Regions from separate parts of the Homo sapiens genome. Here region 1 is linked to region 2. Evidence: promoter capture Hi-C in 16 types of primary human blood cells and fetal thymus (Javierre and others, 2016). All regions are on one chromosome and are shown on one strand. The core of a region is centred on a gene start or on the middle of the fragment in contact, and the rest is flanking DNA. Distances in the headings are between cores, read along the strand shown. Region 1 has its middle 27 kb from the start of MIR4440. Region 2 holds the start of OR6B3 (olfactory receptor family 6 subfamily B member 3).

The links. The method cuts DNA at HindIII sites, captures the fragments that hold promoters and counts their contacts. A CHiCAGO score of 5 or more calls a contact.
Region 1: a contact is called between a fragment that was not itself captured here and the fragment with the promoter of OR6B3 in region 2, in 7 of 17 cell types (M0 macrophages, M1 macrophages, naive B cells and 4 more). The highest score is 10.5, in M0 macrophages.

Annotation. Positions count from the first base shown.
Region 1 is chr2:239,039,563-239,043,560 of GRCh38, forward strand. No RefSeq gene overlaps it. Among named protein-coding and RNA genes, the nearest start is that of MIR4440, 27 kb to the right of the region's middle. The HindIII fragment of the contact is 2,006 bases long and covers 398-2,403 here.
Region 2 is chr2:240,052,141-240,056,063 of GRCh38, forward strand. It overlaps OR6B3 (olfactory receptor family 6 subfamily B member 3), which reads right to left and starts at 1,381. Exons shown (of 3, transcript NM_173351.2): 1 at 1,320-1,381. RefSeq lists enhancers at 2,693-3,335, 3,336-3,923. The HindIII fragment of the contact is 11,088 bases long and covers 1-3,840 here.

The sequences.
Region 1 (3,998 bases), core at 151-2,650, 1.0 Mb before region 2:
GAGCCCAGCCGGCAGGATGGAGCTGGCTTTCCCATGCTGGCGGTCAGCGTGATGCTGGTCTCCAAGACAGCCGTGGGCCCACTTGTGTGAAGCATGTGTTCTGTGTCTGCGTGGGCTGAGGAGAGCTGAACAGATGCCAGTCGGATTCTCTTTTGAGGGCAGAAGGCGCGAGGCAGGACTCTCAGTTCGGTGGCAGTGGGCATATGGGTGTGGGAGACCGTTTCTGCCAGGATCTGTAGGGGAATGCAGGAGCCCAGGGCAGAGGAGTTGGGAGGGCTGGCAGAGGCAGGGGGAGCTGGGCGAGGTGAAGCCCGGAGTGACACAAGATGCCCAGTCTTTCAACGCCCCATCCTCCTTGGTCCCAGCCACAGGGGGTTTCTGTCCTTGCAAATGAAGAAGCTTGACTGAGCTGAGAGCTCATAATTCTGCTCTTTTGTCCAAGATGTGCACTTCTCATGTTTTCACCTTTCTAAAATTTATCTTAGAATTTGTGGCACCAAAAGGACGGGGGTGTCCTCTGCTCCCCTCTCTCATGGTGCAGTTTTGGTCTTCCAGCAGGCGGCTCTGAGACCCCGGGTTCGCTGGGGGTGCCGGTGAGCTCCTCCCATGCGAAGGAAGGGAGGTGGCAGAGCCGGGCAGAGGGAGGTGCTGAGCCGTGACACGGTCTCAACAGAGGCCTCAGCCGGCCCCATGGACTCAGCCCTGCCCTGCATGACAGTGAGGGCCTGGCCTCTGTAATCCCACGTGGACTGCTCCTAAAGTGTGGGCTACCCCGAAGGCACCCCTCTCTCTCCAGCTGAGGGTGGTTTCTGGAAAGGGGTGGAGGCTGAGTCCGAGGCTGAGCTGGGAAGTAGAAAGTGGCCTCAGTCTGGCAGGGGCGCTGGGGGTGCATCTCAGTGGCCCCCGGGGGCTCCCCTAAGACTGCTGTTAACTATCTTCCAAACAAGGACTTTGTAGAACAAAGCACGCATTGTGGCGTCCATAACAACAGTGACAATAGCCATTTGTGGCCAGAAACTGAACTTAGTGCCTTTATACTCATTGCCTGATGCCATTCTCAGGACAGTCCCATCTGGAAGAGTGGCAGGTCAGGTGAGGTGGTTCAGCCCGCGTCACCCTCATGCCTGGGGCCTGGCATTCTTACTGTAAATGACTGGAGGCTCCAAGTGGCTTTACTGACTCTCTGGTGGCAAGGGCTGCCCTGGCCGGCCTGGCCAGACAGACACAGCCCCCAGGGAGAGAGATGCTTTGCCCACCTGACTAAGGCCAAGGCCTCCTCTGGGTGTGTTCTGCACATGGGGGAATGGGGACCGGATGTCCTTTGGGATGGGGGGTGAGGGAGCTCAGAGGAATGTGCTAGAAAATACTGTCCCTGCATTTTACCTTTTTCTTTGGGGCAGCTATTGATTCCTTGAGGAAACCGTGTTCTGTGGCCGAGGCAGGGAGGGCAGCTTTAAAGTCGATTCTCAGGAATGTGAATACCATGAATTAAGGGTGGTGTGTACTCCTGACGTCAGAAAAGGGGAAACCTAGGGATCCACAGTCTAGATCTGGAAGAGGATGCTCGAAAATTTCAGCCCCTGTCCCCGCAGACTCCTCGGAAGGCATGGCTGGGTTTTTGTTTGCTTTTCCCTCACACTGTCTTAACACAGGCAGGGTCCACGGGTGGCCGGCCCTCTGTGAGTCTCGCCTCCCAGGGCGGCCTTGGTCAGTCGCCCGCCGCAGACGCTGCCCACTCACCCAGCACCTAAGTACCATCCAGTTCCCAGCTGTTAAATATTCCCAGGTGTTTCCAGTTGTTCATTCAATAATGCTGAAATGAGCGTCTTTGGACACAAGAGGTTTTCCGTAACTAGGTTTGTGTCCTGGGCACAGGTGCCCAGAAGTGTAATCAGGTCCGGGCACAGCCGTTTGCAAGGCTCTGAAGGGCTCTGCAGCCTCTCGTGGTGACGGTCCCCCAGCCATGGTGCTGAGGGCCGTTCGTGTCCACACACCCTCCCCAGCATTTAACGGGATAGATTGTTGAAATATATACAGGCCCCAAATCGTTTTTCTCTTTTACTTTTGCTTGCAATTTTTATTTTGTTTATTTTTTGAGACAGGGTCTCACTCTGTCACCCAGGCTGGAGTGCAGTGGCATGATCACAGCTCACTGAAGCCTCGACTTTCTGGGCTCAAGCGATCCTCCCACCTCAGTCTCCTGAGTAGCTGGGACCACGGGTGTGCACCACCATGCCCGGCTCATTTTTTAAAAAAATTTTTTGTAAGAGTGTCACCATGTTGCCCAGGATGGTCTTGAACTCCTGGACTGAAGCAATCCTCCCGGTTTGGCCTCCCAAAGTACTGGATTATAGGCGTGAGCCACTGTACCCGGCTACTTGTAATTTTAAGAACTACAGACAAAGCTTGTTAGTTTTCTGTATGTTTATCACACAGTTGTGTCTCATCTTTTGGGATTTGTCCATGGTTTTTAAAAAATTTCTACGATCATTGCACAGATTGTCAACACTGGCCCTGGCTGTCTTGGTTTGGTACGTTCCATTCATTGAGACTGGGGTTATTAAATCGCCCTAGAAGTTTTCACATTTCTATTTAGTCACATTTATCAATGTTAAGTCAACCACCCTCCCCGCCTCCACCAGCCTCAGGGCACCCACTCCCACCAGTGTCATGGCAACCTGGGAAGGTTTACATTTGAGTCATGTCGACGCCAGGCCCCACACGTGAGCACTCACCGAAGGTAGTGGCAAGACTGCCACTGTCACCATATGGGCCCTGTGTTGGGTCTGTCACTAGCCTCTCATCTCCGGGTGTAGTGATTCCGGAGGGTGCTCTCTGCTAGAAAAAAATACATCCCATTTTAATCACTCCATCAATCTTGATTTTAAACATTTTCCTGAAAGCTGTCTGGGTGGGATAGTAGGAAGCCGACAGGCTCATGAGGACGTTCTCACTCAAACAGGTTGCAGGTGTAGGGGCTCAAATCTGTTTACAAAGTCAACTTCTGTGTGTGCTTTAAAGAGAATCGAATGGGCCCCTCATTTTCCTTGGAAATACACTTTTCATGGCAAAAGAATGCCTTTGGCCATGTTCCTTTTCAAAATCAGTGTGCCTTGCTGTTTGGATGTGAGGAGTTTGTTAGCCCCGAATCGTATGTTCCTTCTTCATGACTGTCACTGGCAGTGGGGAGCCACCCTCCAGTGCACGCAGAGCTTACACTTTGCATGAAGACACGTCTTCCTAAAACAGACGATATAACAAACCTATTTTCCTGTCGCAGCTTTTTTGATTTGCATGGTTCTTGGGACTACTGGAACAAACTTCCTAGTATCATGGGAACCTCCTCCACCTGCCCACCAAACTTGGCTTTGACTAAAACTCGGTTTTGTGATGGTACAATACAGAGGAAGTCTAGATTTAGAATGAATTTCCTGGTAACTGGTTTGTGAATAGAATATGGTTTGCGTCTGTGCCCCTGCCAAATCTCACATTGAATTGTCATCTCCAGTGTTGGAGCTGGGACCTGGTGGGAGGTGATCAGATCACGGGGGCCGAGTTCCGTGAATGGCTTAGCTCCATCCCCGCTCGGTACTGTGGAGTGAATGAATGAGCTCTCATGGATCTGGCTGTTTCAAAGTGTGTGGCCCCTTTCCCATCTCTTGCTCCTGCTCCAGCCATGGAAGACGTACCTGCTTCCCCTTCTGCCATAACTGGACGTTTCCTGAGGCCTCCCCGGAGGCCGAACAGATGCCAGCCTCATGCTTCCTGTACAGCCTGGGGAACTGTAAACCAATTAAACATCTTCTCTTTATCAGTTGCCCAGTCTCAGGTATTTCTTTATAGCAGTGTGAGAACGGACTCATACGGAATATCTGCAGTTTCTTCTTGCCTTTCTAAAGAGGCATGAGGGCCTCTGGGTTTGGCTGGCCAGCTCTCCATTGCACGGCACACCTGGTGGCTCCTGCCAAGTCGCTGCCAGCTGGGACCAAGTTAGAGAG
Region 2 (3,923 bases), core at 131-2,630:
CCAACAATGACTAATTAGAATATTCTTAGATTCAAAAAAGTATATTGTAAAAATGTCAGTATCTCCAAATCAATTTTGAAATTTAACTCAATTCTATTTGAAATCTCACCAAATTATATTTTTCTTGAAACAGGATGAAATAATTCTTGAAATCATCTGGAAATATAAACAGATGAGAATAGCTAAAATAATTCAGGAAGAAGAAAAGAGAAGCAGGTTAATGAAGAGGCGTTTCTATTTTGGATAGAAAAACTACAATAAAAATAAAATAATAATTTAATAAAATAAATACTAAAGATAACGAGCACCACCATAAAGTCAATGGAACAGCATAGAGAAAGTATAGAAAGCCCTACATCAGAGCTGAGGATTTCTGTGATACTATTAGCAAGGAAAGCCTGGATTGTGTTAAACATGATGTCAGGATAGTTCATTAAACCCATGCTAAAAACCAACCGGGTCTGTTCTTCATATGTTACATCAGAAAGTGCATTTCAGATGGACAGAGCCTGCGATGCCTGCCGGTCCTCCAGCCTCTCCTAAGCTGCTGTTCTGTGGACACGACAGGGTAGAGCCCAAGCTGGAAGCCCGTGGGCCCGACACGCATAGCCTGCTCGTTGATTTCCTTTCAGCACTGATTTTTAAAGAATAATCCAATTAAAGATTATTTGTGACTTTTCTTTTTTTTTGAGACAGAGTCTCACTCTGTTGCCCAGGCTGGAGTGCAGTGGCATGATCTCGGCTCACCGCAACCTCCGCCTGCTGGGTTCAAGCGATTCTCCCACCTCAGCCTCCCGTGTAGCTGGGATTACAGGTGCCCAGCTCATTTTTGTGTCTGTTTTAGTAGAGACGGGATTTCGCCATGTTGGCCAGGCTGGTCTCGAACTCTTGACTTCCGGTGATCCGCCCACCTCAGCCTGCCAAAGTGCTGGAATTACAGGCATGAGCCACCGCTTCTTAAACATAAATAGGGAGACAGATTTTATGGTGGGGCAGACCGAGAATTCCAGTGGCTTCTGAGCACCTCTCAAGCCAGTTCCTCACACGCCTGTATATTGGGTATATTGGGATGTCATTTATCCTGCACGTTTCAGAAGGACAATTCTCTAAAACTTTCACTTTGACCTTTGTTTTTGAAAATCAGAACATTTCACACAGAGGCACCAATATCTGGTTTCTTTTGAAAAGCTGGAAGATCTGAGGCAACACCGTTCAAGGTCCTGCACTCACAATGCACCCTGTGGACAGTGCAAGATGCACCCTGCTCGCAGCATGGCCCCTCTCTCTGGGAGCACCTGCCCCGTCTGCCCACTGCTTACCTGATTGCAGCTGCAGGGCAGGGCGCGAGGCAGGCAATGATGTGTCTCTGCTCCTACTCAGATACCTCTGGGTCCCCATGTCCCCTGTCTTCTTGGGGTGCACATTCCCACGAATGCCTCTGATGAGGTCTCTTCCTCCCATACATAAAGACTCACAGGCAGTTATACTCCCTCCTCCCACTGCCATGCGGCTTCTGTCGCTGTGCACCTCGGGGACTAGCTGTCCCCAGAAGCCAGCGACGTTCTGCTCATTTCTGGGCCCACATTTTGGCTCTTGTTCTGCTCCCCTTTCCTTCAGTGTCTGGCGCTGTGGCCCCAGCCTTCCGTCCCCACCGTCCACACTCAGAACAATGTACCCGCCCCTGCGGTTCCTGTAGTCACTTCCAGCTGACGACTCCCAGGCTGCCCCGATCCCTCTGCAGAACTAACTCCTGTGTCCAGCCAATGACTCAAGACCTCCCCTGGCCATGGAGCCCCTGCCCCTGTGCTCTTCCTCTCAGGGAGTGGTGCGGCTGCCCACGCCCCCCGGATGCCCCACTGAGCTCCCGTGTGGACCCTTCCCCTCCCCTCCCTCCACACCCGAGCACGCCTGAGTCCTTCTGCCCCACATCTTAAATGCCTCCAGAATCAGGTCTGCTGTCTCCACGTTCATGGGCTGCCATCCACCCTGTCCTTGTTCAGGTTCCGTCCCTCCCAGGCTGGATTATTGTCACCGCTCTCTCACTGGTCTTCCTCCAGTCTCTCCTGACTCTGTCTGATCCATCATCCCAGTAGCAGGGAATGACATTCAGGGAATGACACGCAGACCTCTCTCCTGGCCACGTCCATTGCATGTTCTTAGCATAAGCCCCTTGCTCCTGAGTCAGCCTCTCTATGGCCTCACTGCCTCTCTTGCTCCTGCCCCTCCTGGAATCCCTGGCTGCTGCAGGAGGCACCTCTTCAGTGCCATGAGAGCACCGTGCTGATTCAGTCCCCACTGCTGCCCTGCCAGTTGCCCTTCAGGACTTGCCTCAGACGTAGCTTCTTCCTGATGGGCTCACTTGAGCTCCCGATGCTACTGTTAGCTGCTCCCAGAGATGAGGAATTTCAGGGTGCCTCCAGGCTTCTGCTTTCATTAGGGTTTCCCTGCAGAGGGGGAAAGTGCACTTGAGGAGAGAGAGGAAGATGAGGGGCTTAGTTTGGGGCATGCTGGGCTTGCAGCGCCTATGGGACACCCTGTAGAGAGCTCCAGGAGTACCCCTGACATCCAGAACGCCCACCAGAGACTGAGGTCAGATGTCAAGATGTGTAGGGGGTCGGTCCAAGGTTTATTAAGTGTCTAATATGTGCCAGTCATTGTTTCAGGCAATTGAGATAAATCAGGAGAAAAAAACAGTCCCAAACTCTTGCCTTCATGAAATGTAAATTCTAGTGAAGGCAGGAAATAAGTCAGAAAAATAAATAATACCCATGATATGTAAGGAAATTATTTAGAGTGTGGAAGGTGGTGAGTGGATGGGAACAGAAGGTCAGGGTGGGCTGGGGGGTGGTGGTGGGGATGTGCCAGAGAGGAGGCGACACCAGGGCAGAGTCTCAAAGAAGATGTGAGTTAGCCTGTGGCTGTCTGTCGGACACACGTAGGTGGAGAGAAAATGAGGTGCAAAGGCTGCAGGCTGGGGAGTGCAAGAAGGGGGTCAGGGGGTTGGGGCAAGGCTGGCTGCAGCAGAGTGATAGGGAGTGGCAGGAGACAGTGACAACCAAGAGCAGAAGGAGCCCACTCAGAGCCTGAGGTGGTGAGGACCATGGTGAGGACGTTGGCTTTCACTCTGACGGCAGTGGCATGGCACCACCCACACTGTAAATGGCTGACTCTGACCACTGCATTGAGATCGGGCTGGAGGAGTCAGGTGAGGAGGGGGAGCCCGTGCAGAGACCCTGAGGTCATCAGGGAAAAGGCTGCAGGAGCGCAGGCCAGGGCAGGAGGCGTGGGAAGGGCAAACCTGTCCGGTGTGTGCTGAAGGCAGCCTCAACGAGGCTTTCTGGCTGGGTCCCTGAGAATCAAAAGTGACACCAGGAAGTCAATCTGTGCTGCCTGCAGGGATGTGAATGAGATTGACCAAGGAAAATATGAAGACTAAGAGGGCAAGAATAAAAGTTGAGAAGCCTCCCCCTCTAGAAGCAGGAAGAGGAGGAAGAGGGGCTGGTGAAGGTGGTGGGAGACGTGGGGAGACACTCGGGGACGTGTGGCCCAAGCCAGGACACGGTGGCTCCTCCAAGAGGAGGGAGCATGATTGGCAGGTAGGAGGCCATTGGTAACGGCAGAGGGAAAACATATCAGGGAGGGTTTGGGGGCAGAAGCTCAATGTTAATGGGGCAGGCAGAATTGGAAAGGAAGTGGCACAGAGCTAGCAGGAGCAGATGCCTCTCAGGAGGAAGGAAAACAGTGATACAATTTGGTGTACTTTCACAGTTTACCATTTCCCAAAACATTTCATCCTTTTACTTCTGGTGTCTTGAAGTGTAAGTAGGTATTTTACTTGAAAGCTTTTCTGAACCCAGTTCTGTGGAGTTAATATCACAATGGAAAGTATAAACACCAAACAAGAGTCCTCCAGAATGTGTTTC